2 separate regions of the Homo sapiens genome follow, and region 1 is linked to region 2. Evidence: promoter capture Hi-C in human tissues and cell types (Jung and others, 2019). All regions are on one chromosome and are shown on one strand. The core of a region is centred on a gene start or on the middle of the fragment in contact, and the rest is flanking DNA. Distances in the headings are between cores, read along the strand shown.

The links. Contacts are between HindIII fragments. The study calls those that stand out against the background at their distance.
Region 1: a fragment that was not itself captured here is called in contact with the fragment with the promoter of SRSF6 in region 2 in 1 of the 25 tissues and cell types used here (hippocampus).

What each region holds. Positions count from the first base shown.
Region 1 is chr20:44,505,032-44,508,725 of GRCh38, reverse strand. It overlaps SERINC3 (serine incorporator 3), which reads left to right. Exons shown (of 10, transcript NM_006811.4): 6 at 1,730-1,899. Among named protein-coding and RNA genes, the nearest start is that of SERINC3, 15 kb to the left of the region's middle. The HindIII fragment of the contact is 4,386 bases long and covers 244-3,694 here.
Region 2 is chr20:43,455,474-43,459,676 of GRCh38, reverse strand. It overlaps SRSF6 (serine and arginine rich splicing factor 6), which reads right to left and starts at 1,781. Exons shown (of 6, transcript NM_006275.6): 1 at 1,537-1,781; 2 at 1,168-1,316. The coding sequence starts at 1,643. RefSeq lists silencers at 995-1,254, 1,265-1,364 and enhancers at 1,505-1,604, 1,036-1,983, 1,905-2,064, 2,125-2,444. The HindIII fragment of the contact is 8,319 bases long and covers 1-4,203 here.

The DNA.
Region 1 (3,694 bases), core at 1,187-3,686, 1.0 Mb before region 2:
ATGAATATCCTTCCTTACCAGTGAGTGTAGGTATGTCTTACTCATTTAACCTGCATTCAAGCTCCTGGCATGGAGTTTACTGTAAGCTGCATGGTATTCCATTCCATACAATTCCATGGCATTCCATAGCGGAGTATACCATAATTTATTTAACCTTTACCCTAGTGTTGGTCATTTAAATTGTTTGTAATGACAATTTTATTTTTATCTATTTTTTTTCTTTTTTTTTGAGATTGGGTCTCACTCTCTCACCCAGGCTGGAGTACAGTGGCACAATCATGGCTCACTGCAACCTCTGCCTTCCTGGCTCAAGCTATCCACCTCAGCCTCCCAAGTAGCTGGGACTACAGGTGCACACCACCACACCCACACTACCACGCCTACACCACCACGACCGGCTAATTTTTGTGTTTTTTGTAGAGACAGGGTTTTGCCATGTTGCCGGAACTCCTGGACTCAATCGATCCACCTGCCTTGCCCTCCCAAAGTGTTAGGATTGCAGGCGTGAGCCACCACACCCGGCTGTTATTTTCTTTAATTCATTTTGGATCATACAACTCTAGAAGAATTTATTGAGTTGCAAATTGGTCATACTTTACAGTAACTAAGTGTAGAAAAATCTTGTATATTCAGAGGTGAAAACATTAAGTGTGCTAGTAACTTAATGTACATCATTTAATTTTAGACATGCAAAATTCATTGAGATAAGTAGAAACTAGTTTTCTTAATCTGGGCTTTGACTTGAATACAAGTTAGCTGAGCTCATCATTCTTGCAGTTGGTCTGAGTGTACTGTATGTGCTGTTTCATGTTTTCTAATTTTCAGAGCTACACAGCTAATTGTTTTGTTTGTTGTTTGAGATGGGGTTTTGTTCTGTTGTCCAGGCTGGAGTGCAGTGGCACCATCTCGGCTCACTGCAACCTCTATGTCTTGGGCTCAAGCAATCCCCCTGCCTCAGCTTCCCAAGTAGCTGGGGCTACAGCCTTATGCCACCATGCCTGGCTGATTTTTGTATTTTTTGTAGAGACAGGGTTTGGCCATGTTGCCTGGGCTGGTCTGGAACTCAGGCTCAAGCAATCCAGCCACCTTGGCCTCCCAAAGTGCTGGGATTACAGGCATGAGCCACCATGTTCAGCCAACACAGCTAATTGTTGATTTTTAGTGTGAATGGAAAAGACCATTACTTTAGATATTAAAAAATAGCAAATGAGCCACTTTTCCAGTTCAGGGACAGTCTTATTGTTTGTGATGGGAAATGGATTTAGATAGCCAATGGCTGCAGAGGAAAAAACTGTCATAAAAAGATACCAGTGTGTGTATTCTGTTTTCCTCTAACACCATCCTGGCATGGAGCTTGCTGTGAACTGGGTCATTTTGAGGGTAAAGGAATCATTTAGGTTCCTAAGAAAAGCTCACAATACACATTAATTAACATATAGGTAGCAGTAAACTCTAGCTGGAATGATCAAATGTCTGGTAATCAACCCATGAAATCAAATCAGGTAATTCAGGAAGTGAATTCAGTTGCTTGGTGGATTTTGGAATTTAACATCAAGCCAATTGAATACAATCTTGATACTTTAACCTTGAGACCTCTGTAATTTTACTGTAAATTACCCCAGAAAAGTGACATAATGTCTCCTCATTTTTATATGGAGTGGAAGAAAATTGGCCTTCATTATTAGTTTATTATAGTTGTGGTCATTCATATTGGTTTCCCTTTCTCCAGCTTTACTGTCTTTCACAAGCGCCTTTTATATCCTGTCAATCATCTGTGTCGGGCTGCTCTATACATATTACACCAAACCAGATGGCTGCACAGAAAACAAGTTCTTCATCAGTATTAACCTGATCCTTTGCGTTGTGGCTTCTATTATATCGATCCACCCAAAAATTCAGGTATGATTGTTTACTACTTCTTTCTCCTGTGAAAGGTTTTTAATTCTAAGCTTAAAATCTAGGTACCCTTTCTTATGAATTTATGTCTAAGTTTATCCACTTGAACATTTTTCCATATTATAAAGTCTTCATAATTCTATTTCATGCCTATATCATAATTAAATGAATTTCACTATCATTAAAAAAAAACCCAGGTAACTTGAAAATTTATAGTGCTTTTTTTTTTTTTTTTTTTTTTTTTTGAGATGGAGTCTCGCTCTGTCAACCAGGCTGGAGTGCAGTGGCACAATCTCGGCTCACTGCAACCTCTGCCTCCTGGGTTCAAGCAGTTCTCTGCCTCAGCCTCCCGAGTAGCTGGGATCACAGGCAGCCACCACCGGGCCTGGCCAGTTTTTGTATTTTTGGTAGAGATAGGGTTTCACCATCTTGGCCAGGCTGAACTCTTGACCTCGTGATCCACCCGCCTCGGCCTCCCAAGGTGCTGGGATTACAGGCGTGAGCCACCACGCCTGGCCGGGAATGAGTCTTTTTTTTTTTTTTTTTTTGAGACAAAGTCTCACTCTTGTCCCCTAGGCTGGAGTGCGATGGTGCAATCTCAGCTCACTACAACCTCCACCTCCTGGGTTCCAGTGATTCTCCAGCCTTGGCCAGGCGCCTGCCACCATGCCCGGCTAATTTTTGTATTTTTAGTTGAGACGGGGTTTCACCATGTTGGCAAGGCTGGTCTCGAACTCCTGACCTCAGGTGATCCACCCATCTCAGCCTCCCAAAGTGCTGGTTTTACAGTTGTGAGCCACCGCATGTGGCTGGGAATGATTCTTATGAGTCATTAGCCAAGATATTTTAGGGGAATTAAACTGAAAAATAATTGATTTTAATATTTCAAAACAAAACTCATGCTCTTGAGTTCTAAATACCATAGTTTAGGCTGGGTGTGGTGGCTTAACGCCTGTAATCCCAGCACTTTGGGAGGCCAAGGCGGGTGGATCACTTGAGGTCAGGAGTTCAAGACCAGCCTGACCAACATGGTGAAACGTCATCTCTACTAAAAATACAAAATTAGCTAGGCGTGGGGGCGCACACCTGTAATCCCAGCTACTTGGCAGGCTGAGGGGCAGGAGAATAGCCTGAACCCTGGAGGCGGAGGTAGCAGTGAGCTGAGATTGCGCCATTGCACTCCAGCCTGGGCAATAAGAGCGAAACTCCAGCTTGGCGTGATGGCTCATGCCTGTAATCCCAGCACTTTGGGAGGCCAAGGCGGGCAGATCACCTGAGGTCAGGAGTTCAAGACCAGCTTGGCCAACATGACGAAACCCCATCTCTACTAAAAGTACAAAAATTAGCCGGGTGTGGTGGCGGGCACTGTAATCCCAGCTACTCAGGAGGCTGAGGCAAGGAGAAATTTGAACCCAGGAGGAGGTTGCAGTGAGCTGAGATCGCACCACTGCACTCCAGCCGGGGTGACAAAAGCGAGACTCCGTCTCAGAAAAAAAAGAAAAAAAAACCGTTTAAAAAAATTCATGGAGTTATAGATATGAAATATGAAAATTCTATCTAGACATCACCTTTCCTTTTAAAAGTGAGAAAACAGAAGTCTCAAAGAAGTGATAGGCCTCTCCCAGCTACTAATTAGTTGCAGAGCTGATCTTAGATCTTTTCACTACACCAAGGGAGTGGAAAATCAAAGTCCTTGTGTGATGCACAGGAATTTCTAGGATTGTGAAATGCGTTGAGAACCAGTAGTACTTGCTTGGTCTTTCTGGGTTCTTTTGCGAGCTAACTGAACAGAAGGTTA
Region 2 (4,203 bases), core at 532-3,031:
TGGAGTAGGACTTTGCTATTATATTGCTAAACCTTCGACACATTTGTGATTTGCCATAAAATTAAATTAAGGGCAAGTCAAATAGACTAAATCCAACTAAACCTCTCCTACAATCTGTTAGAGAGTGACTGCTCCTTTATTCGATTTACCTCGCTAAGTTTTATTTTACAGAACATTGTAAAATATAAAACTTAACTGATTACATGCATTTCTACATTTTACAAAAATGTTTACTAGTTTTACACTAAGTACTTACATCACAGTGTGAGGTTTTTGGTGGTGGTTTGGCCACAAAACACGCAAGGTAACAGTCACCTAGTTCAGATTAACCAGTTTTGTCTAACCCTTGGAATCCTCACCATCACCCTGCGTCTAATGGCAAAAGGCTGCTGTCGTCATGGCTTCCGGTAAGGTCAGCCAAAGGGTCATAGGGCAAGGGTCACACAATGTATGGAAAAGCCAAGGCCAATCAGGAAAGGCAGTCATCTTAGCCTCAGTGGACACAGCCTCAGCCCCATTGGTCACTTTCAAATTGAAACATCAAGGACTTGTTAAAAAGTTTGAATTCAACATGCAACAATTTAAACATCAAACATTTAACATAACCAAAAATCCCCCCAACCTCCTCCCAATAACATGCCCCAATTAGTTCAAATACAGCATAAAGCTTATTTAGATCTACTTTGTGGTACAATACCACATTACTTAAAAATAGTACATTCTTTGGCCCCCATCAAGTTCCATAGCTTTAAGACCTATACTTTATGCTCCTCCCCTTCCCCGTCCCCCGCGCCCCCTACCCCACCTCCACCCGAGCCTGCCCCCGAACCTCTAACTAATGCACTGATAGGTAAGTAAGGAGAATACAACAAATACAGCCACCCCTTACTTCCTCTGTGGGAAGAACCCGTGACAGTGCTGACAAGGGGCCAGAAGAAGCCACCCACCTCCCAACTTGGCAAATAAACAAAACCAAACACCCAAACCCAATCCCCGCGCTCCGGCGTCCCATGGCTGCCCCGGGCAGACGTGAAGGCAGCGGGGCTCGGGGACACCCAAGTCAAACGACCCCCGGCCCTCGCGCCTGCCCGGGCTGGGAGGCCCCACCCCACCCACCCCCGCCCCCAGGGTCCCCAAGGGCGCGGAGCGCGCGGGGGTGGGACTCACTGCGGCTTCCGTAGCTGTAGCCGTCGCGATCGCGACGCGGGCCCCGGGCGTGCTCTACGATCACGCGCTCGCCGCAGAGCTCCTTGCCGTTCAGCTCGTAAACGGCGTCGTCGGCGTCGCGGGAGTCCTCGAACTCCACGAAGCCGTACCTAGGGGCGGTGCGAGGGCCGGACAACCGCGGGGGAGTCGTTAGCCAGGACGCGCACGTGCGCGCGCCCGTACCCCACCGCGCGCCCCCGCGACGCCGCGCCGTCGCCATCTTTGAGGCCCTGCCACGCGGCGCCGCGGCCTTGGCCGCTTCTTTCCTTGGAGAGTTCCCGCCGCCACCAGGCCTGGGACGCTGGGCGCGGGCGCCCAGGCCCGACTCACCCATTTTTGAGGTCTACTTCGAGGAGGCGGCCATAGCCACTGAAAAAGCGCTGGATGTCCTTCTCCCGGACGTTGTAGCTCAGGCGTCCTATGTAGACGCGCGGCATGTCCGTGGCGGGCGGGGACCCAAGGGCTGGTTGTCGAACGGCGGACCGCAAGCCAGTAACCGCGGTGCGGGTGCGGGGACGGCAAGAGCCCGAACACGCGCCTCACACCACAGGGGCGGCCGAGTCCAGCCACACAATGGCGCGCGCGCGCGCCAGGCTTTCGCTATATGGGCGGCCGGTGGGGCGGGGCCTGGAGCGTGATGTCAGCGCGCAGCGGCACGTCCGTCCCGCGTCGTCCCTGGGCTAGATGGTGACTGGCGAGTCCGTTGCCCGCGACGTTTCGGTGTAGTGCGGTCTTGCTAGCTTCTAGGATTTTTCTCTAGCCCTCCCCACCGTCTTTGAAAACACAATGTCTCTAATCCAGCCGCAGAACTGCTTTCTAATTTGTACCTTTTATAAAACTGTGCGCGATCTCTTCGGGGTTGAAGCTCGGGAGGCGGGCTGAGCGAATCCCCGTTTTTCATTGGTTCTCGAGGTTATCATAATAGGTCGCCGCGGTCTCTGCTTGGTGGCTTAAAACGAGGCTGCGGATTTCTCCCAGCGATTGGTTGATGCTCGTTTTGATGGGGACCGCGGTCTCGGACCCAGTCGCTTGTCTTGTTTCGCAGAATCTGAGGATCGCGCGCCGAGGTCTTGCTGACCGGGCGGAGGTCGCGTTGCGAGCGCGCAGACCCGCCGACATCAGCCTCTCCGGGTCTCACTCGCAGCCTTCGCCTCCCCGGACGTTCCCCTCTCCCTCCATGGGTCTTTCTTGGAGCCCTGGCAGCTTGACTCACTTGTGGATTGGGCTATCCGTGGCAATCCTACGCTCACTGTAGGTGCTCAAAAGGGAGCGTGGACGAGACCCGGCAGCCCTCCCACAGCGACGAACGATTTTTTTTCTCCCGTGTATGGAAAGTCCTTTGTCCCAATACTATCATTTCCTCCACTGACTTGAAAGTGCCTTATTTTGTGAGTTTATCAATGGAGATGCTATTTAAAGCTGTAGAACCAGATTGAAAACCTCAAAGGAGTAAGTTTAAGTGGAGAGCGGAAGACCCAGGCCAACGCCTGGGGTACTCTGAAATTTAAGCGCAGGAAAGGAGACTGGGAGGAGTGACTAGCGAGGTAGGGAGAAGACCAGGAGAGTAGGTGTCACCGCCGAAGCTAAAAAAAAAAAAAAAAAAAAAAAGGGATATCACTGAGATAACACCAGCTCTTTAGATATTTATGTATTCCTGCTCTGTTTTGAGTGGTGCAACCTCAATATCCTTAAGCTTCGGGTTGAAAAAGGGGGGTTTTGTCCTCCTGGAGCTATTTGGAAGTCTAGAGGGAAACGTTGTTTGTCACGACTGGGGGAGGTAGAGGCCGTGCTTAAAGTTAGATAAATAAAAAATACGAGTCTGTAATCCCCACACCTTGGGAAGCTGAGGCAAGAGGATCTCTTGAGCCCAGGTGTTCGAGGCTGCAGTGAGCTATGATCATGCCACTGCACTCCAGCCTGGGTGACAAAGCAAGACTCCAACCTGCCTGAAGGAAAGAACAAAGCTTCCGCAGCGTGGAAGGGGACCCGAGCGGGTTGCCACTGCTGGCTGGACCGCCAGTTTTTAGTCCCTTATTTGGCCCTGCCTACATCCTGCTGATTGGTCCATTTTACAGAATGTTGATTGGTCCGTTTTTACAGAGTGCTGATTGGTGTGTTTACAAACCTTTAGCTAGACAGAGAGCACTGATTGGTGTGTTTTCAATCCTTTAGCTAGACGGGAAAGTTCTCCAAGTCCCCACCCAACCCAGAAGCCCAGCCGGCTTCACCTCTTCACCTCGGTAGGCAGAATAAGGGTTCCCCCTAAAGATGTCTATGTCCTAATCCTAATCCTAATCCCTGAAACCTGTGAAGATGTTACCTTGTATGTCAAAAGGGACTTTGCAGATCTGATTAAGTTGAGCATCTTGAGATGCAGAGATGCCCCGGGATTGTCCAGGTGGGCCCCATGTGATCATAAGGGTGATTACAAGAGGGGGACAGGAGAGCCACAGTCAGAGAAGCAGATGTGACAAAGGAGGCTGGGATTGGGGTCAGAGTGATTGGCTGTAAGAAAGTCACAACCGAAGTTAATGGCTTTGAAGATGGAGGAAGGAACCATAAGCCAAAGGGTGCCAGTAGCCTCTGGAAGCTGGAAGACACGAGGGAACAGATTCGCCCCAGAGCCTCCTGAAAGAACGCAGCCCAGGCCAGGCTCTGTGGCTCACACCTGTGCCATCTCGGCTCACTGCAACCTCCGCCTCCTGGGTTCAAGTGATTCTCCTGCCTCAGCCTCCCGAGTAGCTGGGATTACAGGCATGCACCACCACGCCCAGCTAATTTTGTATTTTTAGTAGAGACGGGGTTTCACCATGTTAGGCTGGTCTCGTTTCGAACTCCCAACCTGAGGTGATCCACCCGTCTCTGCCTCCCAAAGTGCTGGGATTATAGGCGTGAGCCATTGTGCCAAGCCCAACACCAGCTCTTTGGATATTTTTGTATTCCTGCTCTGTTTTGAGTGGTGCAACCTCAATATCCTTCCGCTTCGGGTTGAAAAGG